Regions from separate parts of the Homo sapiens genome. Here region 2 is linked to region 1. The links are contacts of gene promoters, found by promoter capture Hi-C in human tissues and cell types (Jung and others, 2019). All regions are on one chromosome and are shown on one strand. Each heading gives the region's core, a stretch centred on a gene start or on the middle of the fragment in contact. The rest is flanking DNA. Distances are from core to core; before and after follow the strand shown. Region 1 holds the start of APOL4 (apolipoprotein L4). Region 2 overlaps RBFOX2 (RNA binding fox-1 homolog 2).

The links. The method cuts DNA at HindIII sites, captures the fragments that hold promoters and counts their contacts. A contact is called where the count stands out against the background at its distance.
Region 2: a contact is called between a fragment that was not itself captured here and the fragment with the promoter of APOL4 in region 1, in 2 of the 25 tissues and cell types used here (bladder and heart left ventricle).

Annotation. Positions count from the first base shown.
Region 1 is chr22:36,198,821-36,203,469 of GRCh38, reverse strand. APOL4 (apolipoprotein L4) reads left to right here and starts at 1,661. Exons shown (of 4, transcript NM_001386885.1): 1 at 1,661-1,770; 2 at 4,094-4,140. The coding sequence starts at 1,736. RefSeq lists an enhancer at 1,186-1,685. The HindIII fragment of the contact is 28,208 bases long and covers 1-4,649 here.
Region 2 is chr22:35,933,332-35,937,771 of GRCh38, reverse strand. All of the region lies in intron 2 of RBFOX2 (RNA binding fox-1 homolog 2), which reads left to right. Among named protein-coding and RNA genes, the nearest start is that of RBFOX2, 93 kb to the left of the region's middle. The HindIII fragment of the contact is 3,459 bases long and covers 1-3,349 here.

The DNA of each region.
Region 1 (4,649 bases), core at 412-2,911:
CTTATCTCTGTATACTGTACTTCTACATACAAATGCACTGTACTTCTACATACGAATGTTATGTTAAAGAATTACTTCATCCCCATGTGACCATCCCACCTCGTAATCAAATGACCCTAAATCCCTCACTAACCTACCCCCGCCCTCACTAAACTGAATAATAAATGCTGGTATATCCAGTGCATTGTTGACCAGAAGGCGGTGACCCCCCTGGACCCAGCTTTCACTATCTTGTGTGTGTCTATTATTTCTCAACCTGCCGATCCGCCTAGGAGCAAAGAGAGAGCCCCGTTGCACTGGGGGCTGCTGGCCAGATCCCGCAATAGGAAACATGGCTGAGACAGGGGAGTGAGAAGGTCGCATTGCAGAATGGTGCCTGTGGCATGACGCCAGCTTTGTAATCATGAGATTCAAAAGCCACCTGTGGAATTGTGAGTGTAACTACAGGAGTGAGAGCTTAGATCTCTGTGTTTGTAGAAGCAGAATCAAACCTGGACACTGTTGGATTACTAAAATCACCCGTTTTTCTTCAATAGCAGAGTCACAAGGGCAGATGTTGGCTTCCCGTCTGCTCTCCAAGAGCTGTGCGACTCTGGGCAAGTCACCTCCCCTCCCAGCCTAAGATTTTCCCCTCTCAGAAACCTGATAGAGCTGCCAAAAGTCCATGAAATCAGGGGGGTAATTTCTGTGAAATCTGAGTCGTGGTCTTATTTTTCTTTTTCTTTTTTTTTTTTTCTTTTTTCTGAGATGGAGTCTCGCTCTGTTGCCCAGGCTGGAGTGCAGTGGCGCAATCTCTGCTCACTGCAAGCTCCGCCTCCCGGGTTCACACCATTCTCCTGCCTCAGCCTCCCGAGTAGCTGGGACTACAGGCGCCCGCCACTACACTCGGCTAATTTTTGTATTTTTAGTAGAGATGGGGTTTCACCATGTTAGCCAGGATGGTCTCCATCTCCTGACCTTGTGATCTGCCTGCCTCGGCCTCCCAAAGTGCTGGGATTACAGGCGTGAGCCACCGCTCCCGGCCTGATTTTTCTTCACCAAAAAGAGATGCCCATCAAGATAGAAAGCACTATAGCTGAAGCCTGTAATCCCAGTGCTGTGGGAGGCAGAGGCGGGAAGATCACTTGAGGCCAGGAGTTCAAGACAGCCTGAGAAACACAGGAGATGCTGTCTCTATGAAATCAAAAATTAACAAATTAGCCCAGCATGGTAGCGTGCACCTGTAGTCCCAGCTACTCAGAAGGTTGAAGGAGGAAGATCACTTGAGCCCAGCAGATCTAGGCAGCAATGAGCTAGGATGGCGTCAAAGCCCTGCAGCCTGGGTGACACAGCAAAACGGTTTATTAAAAATGAAATGAAAATGGTGATTTCTCAGGAGGAGCACACTGTCTCAACCCCTCTTTTCCTGCCCAAGGAGGAGGCCCCGCAGCGACATGGAGGGAGCTGCTTTGCTGAAAATCTTTGTCGTCTGCATCTGGTGAGCTTGGCTCAGAGCCCTGAGGTGGGAGGGAGGGCTCCCTGTCTGGGCTGCACAATTGGGCAGGGCTTGGGCTGGGCCAGGAGCCATGTGGGTTTTTCTAGGAACCAAAATCACTTCCCGGAATTGACCAACTGGTAGACTCGCCTAGAGGGGACGCACTGTGTCCTAGTTGAGGCTAACAGTCAGTATCCAGCCTCAACATTCAGCAGAGGCCCCAGATCAGCGTCTGAGCCAGGCCAACAATGACCAAGGAGGATGGGATCCTGGGTGCAGCTCATCACAAGCGTCGGGTGAGTCCGAGGCCCCAGCTCTCTGCCCTCCTGCTCCTCTGCTCTCTCCTGGTCCTCCCAGTTCTACTGGCTCATGGTGTTGAGATGGTTGCCTTGGCCTAGGGGGTCACACAGTGAACAAAGCAGGAAGAAGGCGAAGGGATGCCCCTCTCCTGTCACCCCTGTCCCTTACAGCAAGAAGCGCCCAGACGCCCCTCTGCATACTCCCCTGGTGAATGCTGCCCAGGACTGGGTCCCCCTTTTACCCTTGTTGCATGGGGGCCCCAGAAGACAGACATCTGTGTGTCTGAACCCTGAGACAAAGGCAGGAAAGGGAAAGAGGGAGGCGAGTGGCTTTTGAGGAGGGGGCTTTAGTATGAGAGCTGGAGGATGGAACCCCATCAGGGGGCCCGGGAACCACTGAGCTGTTAAAATAAAGTCTGCAAACAAAGACCAGCTGCTGGAAGTGGGTGTGCCAGGGAGTGCGCAGAGACACACGGTGAGAAAAGAACAATGGTAATGCTTGGAGCCGCCCCTAACTGGGATGGGCCTGAAATGGTATTGTTATTATTTATAGTATCATTATTAGTCATTTTCATCTTATTTGTACCCTCCCTCTATCTCTCCTCTCCACCTTTTCCTAACATTCTATCACCAGTTTTATGTCTTCCATTAGCAACTTTGTAGCTGTAAACAATTTACTTACAACTTTCTTATACCCTCAGTTGTACCCAGTATTTCTTAACTTCCATCTTTAAAAAATGACAATATTAATCCTCCTTCTCCTTTGTTCAGTGCTTCACATCTCAACTGCTACCTTCGTGCCTTAAAGTTTGTACTAATTGGTATTGATAACAAGATATTTAGTTCTCAAATTTACATGTTGTGTATATATTTTTTGTCCTGATAAAGAGACTACTGAGAGCCAGTAAGACTGAAAGAATGGGCATCTTCATATACTGCTAGTTTGAGTGTGAATTGGTACAATTTGCATGTAGTGTGGCTCTAGGTATAAAACATTTTGAGATGTTGATACCCTCTGACCTAGTCATTCTACTCCTACAAATATCTTAAGGAAATAAAATCAAATGTGGGCAGTTTTACGTGAAGGAGGGTGTTCTTTGTAGCATAATTTACATGAAGAATTAGAAACACCCTAAGGTCCATCAGCTAGGGGAGGACAGCAGAGGGAACAGGGCAGCGCCAGGAGGGCTCGGCAGCCACAGCAGGGGCTAGGCCGGCATCTGGCAGGATCCAGGTCTTTGTGGGACAAAGGATCTTAGAGAAGCAAGGGGGACACAGGCTGTCCACTGCAGCACCAGTGAATTCACCAAGACGAAAAGTTGAGCACGGAGTGTGAGACATGGATTTGCAATGAGGAGTCATTTACCATGAGCGTGTATACATGACTCAATATTGTATATTTAAGGGAGTAGAGCACAGTCATTGAAGACATGAGGTTGAAGCAGAAGTCCTGGCTCTAGCAATAGAAAACACTGGCAAGTTCCCTAACTTTTGTGGATTCCTCTGTGTTCAAATGGGAAAGTGGTACCCATCTCCCGGGCTGTGTGTGATCATTGAATGAGACACATGTCAGAAGCCCTGCACATCACAGGCCCGGCGCGACCGCTCACGCCTGTAATCCCAGCACTTTGGGAGGCCGAGACGGGCTGATCATGAGGTCAGGAGATCGAGACCATCCTGGCTAACACGGTGAAACCCCTTCTCTACTGAAAATACAAAAAATTAGCCGAATGTGGCGACGGGCACCTGTAGTCCCAGCTACTCGAGAGGCTGAGGCAAGAGAATGGCGTGAACCTGGGAGGCGGCGCTTGCAGTGAGCCGAGATCGCGCCACTGCACTCCACCTGGACGACAGAGCGAGACTCCGTCTCAAAAAATATAAATAAATAAAAATAAAAATAAAAAAAGAAGCCCTGCACATCACAGACACTCAATACAGACTGGCTATCATCAATTAGTTGTCACACATGTTTCCGGTCATTGTTAGAACGTTCCTTCCCATCTCTATTTCTGCGTATAGACTGTGTAGTTTCTGTAATGATCAGATGGCTGCCCCTCCTCTGATTATCTTCTCCTCATTCTCCAACAGGACAAGCGGACTTTTCCTTGGTGTGAGAGTGAGGGAAGAGGGAGCTGGAATGAGTTGAGTGTCTGTAAATAGCAGATGATGGGGACTTGGTGATAGAGAAAGAATCTGGGTTAGGTTGGTCTTGGCATTTGCTGCCACCTCAGAGGGATCTGCAGAGGCCCAGCTGTTCAAGCCTCCCTTTGCCCATAGGTGGCTCACATTCAATCCCACAATTTGTTTTCTCTTCCTCAAGGGTGCAGCAAAACCATCCAGGCTGGACAGTGGCTGGACAGTTCCAAGGTAAGCCTTTCAGAGACCTGGCTGCTGGTAGGCTCGCCTCCTCTTCCCTGGCTGGTTCCTACCCACAGCTAGAATGGAGGGTGGTGTCTTCAAGGCTGAGTGAGCCCCAACGGAACCCAGACGGAGGTGGCTGATGAGGCTGCCCCAAGCCCCAAGAGAGGCCACGTGGAGTCCCCTGACCCAGGGTTCTGGGGGGCATCTGCATCCTGACCTCTCCTCAGCGGGTCATGGCCCAGGTGCCCACTTCCTCCCTACCCTGACACCTAGCAAATGACTTAAGTGGGGCAGGACAGCCTTGGGGAAATGGAAACAGCAGGGTTGGCTTTTGAGGGTTGGCCAGGAGTAGCGGAGGGGTGGGAGAGGAGGTTGACCAGCAGCCCTGACCTCTCACCTCCCTCTCTGCTCCTGGCTGACCCTGGGGTGTTTCCAGCAGAGGCCGGTCCCCTCCCTCCAGCTCTTGCCCTGCACCAGCCCCTCTGCTCTGAGTGGCCCTGTGGGTAGAGTGACCC
Region 2 (4,440 bases), core at 371-2,870, 270 kb after region 1:
TAAAAATACAAAAATTAGCTGGGTGTGATGGTATGCAGTTGTAGTCCTGGCTACTCGGGAGGCTGAGGCAGGAGAATTGCTTGAACTGGGGAGGTAGAGGTTGCAGTGAGCTGAGACTACACCATTGCATTCCAGCCTGAGTGATAGAGCGAGACTTTGTCTCAAAAACAAAACATAAAACAAACAAAAACAACAACTACAAAAAAACAAAAACTAGGATGGTTGATAATCAATAGTCACCTATTTGCAGGCCTTTCAGATTTGAGAGTATTTGTCCAATTCTTGCACTTTTGGTGCTGAGTTGATATCAGAGTGGCCCCAGATAAGGCATCGGGAGAAGAAGTGTTGTTAGCTCTGTGTTCATCCCCTACTGAGTTCATCACTGTTGATATTGAAGATGGAAGCTTTTGGTAAAAGATAGGGCCATTTACCCTAAATCTAAAGAGAATGTAAAGATTTATTTGTTTTTCATTCTGGTTTGTGTCTGTCCTAGAGCTTCTCTAAGCTGGGAAACTTATGCCTTTGATAGTACTTTTATATCTTAGTCATATATCAGAAAAACATTCTCATACCTGGAGATCCACCCCACGGAGTTTCTGATTGGGTAAGTGTAAGATTGGGCTTACCCATTCAAATGTTTAAAAATCCCAAAGGTGATTCTGCTGTGTAGTGCGGTTGAGAACTACAGTCCTATGGGCTGCTTTAAAAGCAGTGACAGTTTCTGTTTCATCCTGTACTTTTCACTTAGGACATGTAATAAAGGGGTCGTGGTTAGTCTCTTAATCTAGTCTTGCAAACTAATGCAGTTACTTTATTATTTATAAAATGTTGCTTATTGTGGATTTAGGAAGGTAAAGCTAATTGATGTAAAGTATGGAAATAGACTTACTGAGTTTAGAAGACTGAAAGGGTACTGTATTCTTCTTGTGGGGATTATAGATCAATAAGGAGCTAAGCAAAAGGAGTTAATAGGAATTTATTAAAGCCTAAAAAAGTAGTCTCTTTGATTGTACCTACTTTTTCTTTCTTTTGCAGTAGGGGCCCACTTCTGTAACCTGCACATTCATTACTCATGCTGTCTCTGCTGCAGGCCTGTTACAGACCCTTTGCCATGGTTTAAAGCTGCTGATTTACTTTGAGGCACATTCTGATGGTGACAGGTTTATTTTAGTTTATTTTCTTGGGCTTTAATTTGTACTCTGGTTGGATCTTTGAATTAGAGATCTTAGAGTGTGCAAATAGGCAAATATTGAATAGCTGCTTGTTGTATTTGATGAATACAGAATCCAAATGAGTACTGCTAATTAATGCGCCTAACCTTGTGAACTCTCACTTTGCGTTTTGAGATTTGGGAGGCATTTATCAGCGTGAAACACTGGTCGCTGAACAGTCTGAGCTGGCGGAAATGGAACTTGTGATCTTTACGTCTCCTCAGCATGGTTTTGGCTCAGCAAATCGAGGAACTGGGGAATGGGGTGAAGGTGAATTTTAATTGTGCTTTTGTTTGCTTTCCCTTTTTTTTTTTTTTTTTTTTGTTGTTGTTGGTTTGGTTTGGTTTTTGAGACAGGGTCTTGCTCTGTCACCCATACTGGAGTGCAGTGGCATGAACATGGCTCACTGCAGCCTTGACCCCTGGGGTGCAAGTGATTCTCCCACCTCAGCCTCCTGAGTAGCTGGGACCACAGGTGTGTGCCACCACACCCGGCCTGTTTGCTTTCCTTATTCTTTCACTGTTCCTTCCTAAATAGATGAGAACCATCTGCAGACAAGATTCTTATCAGTGGCTGAATGGTGATTTAAAAAGAGATAACTCTTTTGATTGTTTTGGACCACTTTCATTGTATTTTCTCATCTTATTCTCCCAAACACCCCTTTTGAAGTAGATGAGGCAAATATTCCCTCTGGAAAGATGAGGAAATTGAAGCACACAGAGGTAAAGTGACTTATCCAAGGCAACAATTCAAGTAAGTAGCTAAATAAGAGCTGAAATTTCCCCTTCTGTCTGAGGGTCCTTTTCTCTGTACTGGAGAATTATTGATTGACCATAGGAAAATGTGGTCACGTGTGAATGTGCCCATTCACTCATTTACATTATTTTATTTACCATGTGGGGGCTTCGTAGACTTCTTCAAGCTCAACCACAGATGTAGAAGTCTGTGACTCCTGATTAAAGATTATTACTACTAAGTTTGTTAGCACCAAGTGTACCACCAGCATTTCACTTTTTTAGTGATTCTTTTGTCATGTTATATACAGTCCCAATAGCACATTGGAGTTAAACACCTGAAGGAAAGGAGCAGGGAAAACCACCCGCCACCTCTTGCATGTTTATGCAAGGTCACCTCAGCCTTCTTTCTTGATCTATTAAGAAGCTTTATGGGATGACAATCCATTGCTTTTATAAAGCACTCTGAGCATTTCACTATACTTTCTAATGTGGTTTCTCTATGGAAGTGGAGGAGACAAACATTGTTCCAGTTTTACATAAGTGAAAACTAGTTCAGAAAAGTGAGAAATTTTATCTAAGGCCATGCAGGACCAAGTGCAGTGGCTTACATCTATAATCCCAGCACTTTGGGAGGCCAAGGCAGGAGGATTGTTTGAGCTCAGGAGTTGGAGACCAGCCTGGGCAACATAGCAAGACCTTGTCTCTACTAAAAATAAAAAAAATCAGCCGGGTGTAGTGGTGTGTGCCTGTAGTCCCAGCTACTCGGGAGGCTGAGGTGGGAGGATTGCTGGAACCTGGGAGATTGAGGCTGTGGTGAGCTATGATTGTGCCACTGCGCTCCAGCCTGGGTGACAGAACAAGACCCTGTCTCAAAAATAAATGAATAAATAAACCCAGGCAGGATTTTAGATTGATGATACAATGTAGTGGTTTAGATTCCTAGTTGACTGTTTGTGATTTGTGCATGTGCTTAGGCGTGTTCCCAGGCCTTGATTAAGGCTAGAATGTTTTATGGATTTGCAGTATTTTTAAAGTGGGAGAATACTTATGTGCATCAGCTCTAGGGTTTTTATATAAGAAGAGCTTAAGAGCAGCAATCTGATTAGAAGAGGGCCTTGTTCTGCACAGCAGCCTTACTGTTTTTGCGAAGATTATTTATATGGGATGGCTCTTAGGGGTTTCCTAGAAAGTGATGGGGGTCCTAAGGCTCCTAAGGCTGGCCCCTCGCTCGCTTTTGGTGCAACAACTTTATGTCTGTTATAAATAAGGTGACCATATAAACTTTAGCATTCAAGTTGGGGCACTTTTGAGAATAAAAAGTGATGCCAATAATTAGTTTCAAACAGTCCCAGGTAAACTGGGATGTATGGCCATCCTTCTCTAATTGAAGAAATACAGTCAGTGTTTTCTTAACCAAAGTGATCAGAACTAGTAGGCCGTGGGTTAATCTAAACAATTGGTTGAAGTGGGGAAATATTTTAAACTTTTATTTTAATATAGAGCATTTTTAATTTAAACAAATATATGCTTACTCTTTAGTTTCCTGATATGAGGTCAAGATCCTTATATATAGATGTGATTGAAATACTACTTGAATTTTTTGCATAAACTGTGCTCCCAGAGCATCATCTGTGAGTTCTAATTTGTTTTTTTTTTTAAAGAGGAACACGGTCTTGATGACATTCAGAGCAATTTGGGTGAAACTGTCTATCTAGATTTGTATGGTTTTCCCTTCTTGCCCGGTCTTTTACAGTTATCCTGCCCACATCTAATTTGAGCCTAAGTTTTCAGTGTCTTGACTTATTTTTCACAAAGCATTCACATTAGTTATTTTCAAGGAAATTTTCTAATTTATTTCATTGATGTGTGTATATATATATATATATATATATATATAACATTTAATTATATAATTATAAGAACTTACGACTTCTATAAACTGGCAGGTGAATAAACACAAGTGATTTTTGGTAAGCATACAACTCAGCTACTGGGAGAAGAAAGGGCTTGGGGGCAAATAGGAGAGAGTTGTTTACTAGTTTTAGGTGGTTTAAGACTGTTAAAAGCGTCCCTTTATTAGACTTGGGAACTGGAGAACATTAGTTAATTTAACAAGTTAATTGATTAAAAGAGGCTTATACTTTAATCAACCACAGGGAAGACTTACTTTTGTTTCATCAATTTTGTATCTCCTTAGTGGTTACTTGACTAAATTTTGTTCTATTGTTTTAGAGTCAACTCGGTTTGGGGGATGGGTAGGGAAGAGGATTAGAACAGATACACACAAACTAGAGATAATTTGTTTTGCTTCATTGGGGTGGCCTAACCAAGTAAGGGATGTTCAGCAGTGGGATACTTGCAAAACTAAGTGTTGAAAGCTTTCATTATTTCATCATTAAAAATTATTTAAGCTGTAGTGTACTATTTTGTTTATTAATTGATGAATACAAATGTATATATTTGTGGTACACAAAAAACCCAACTAATATCTG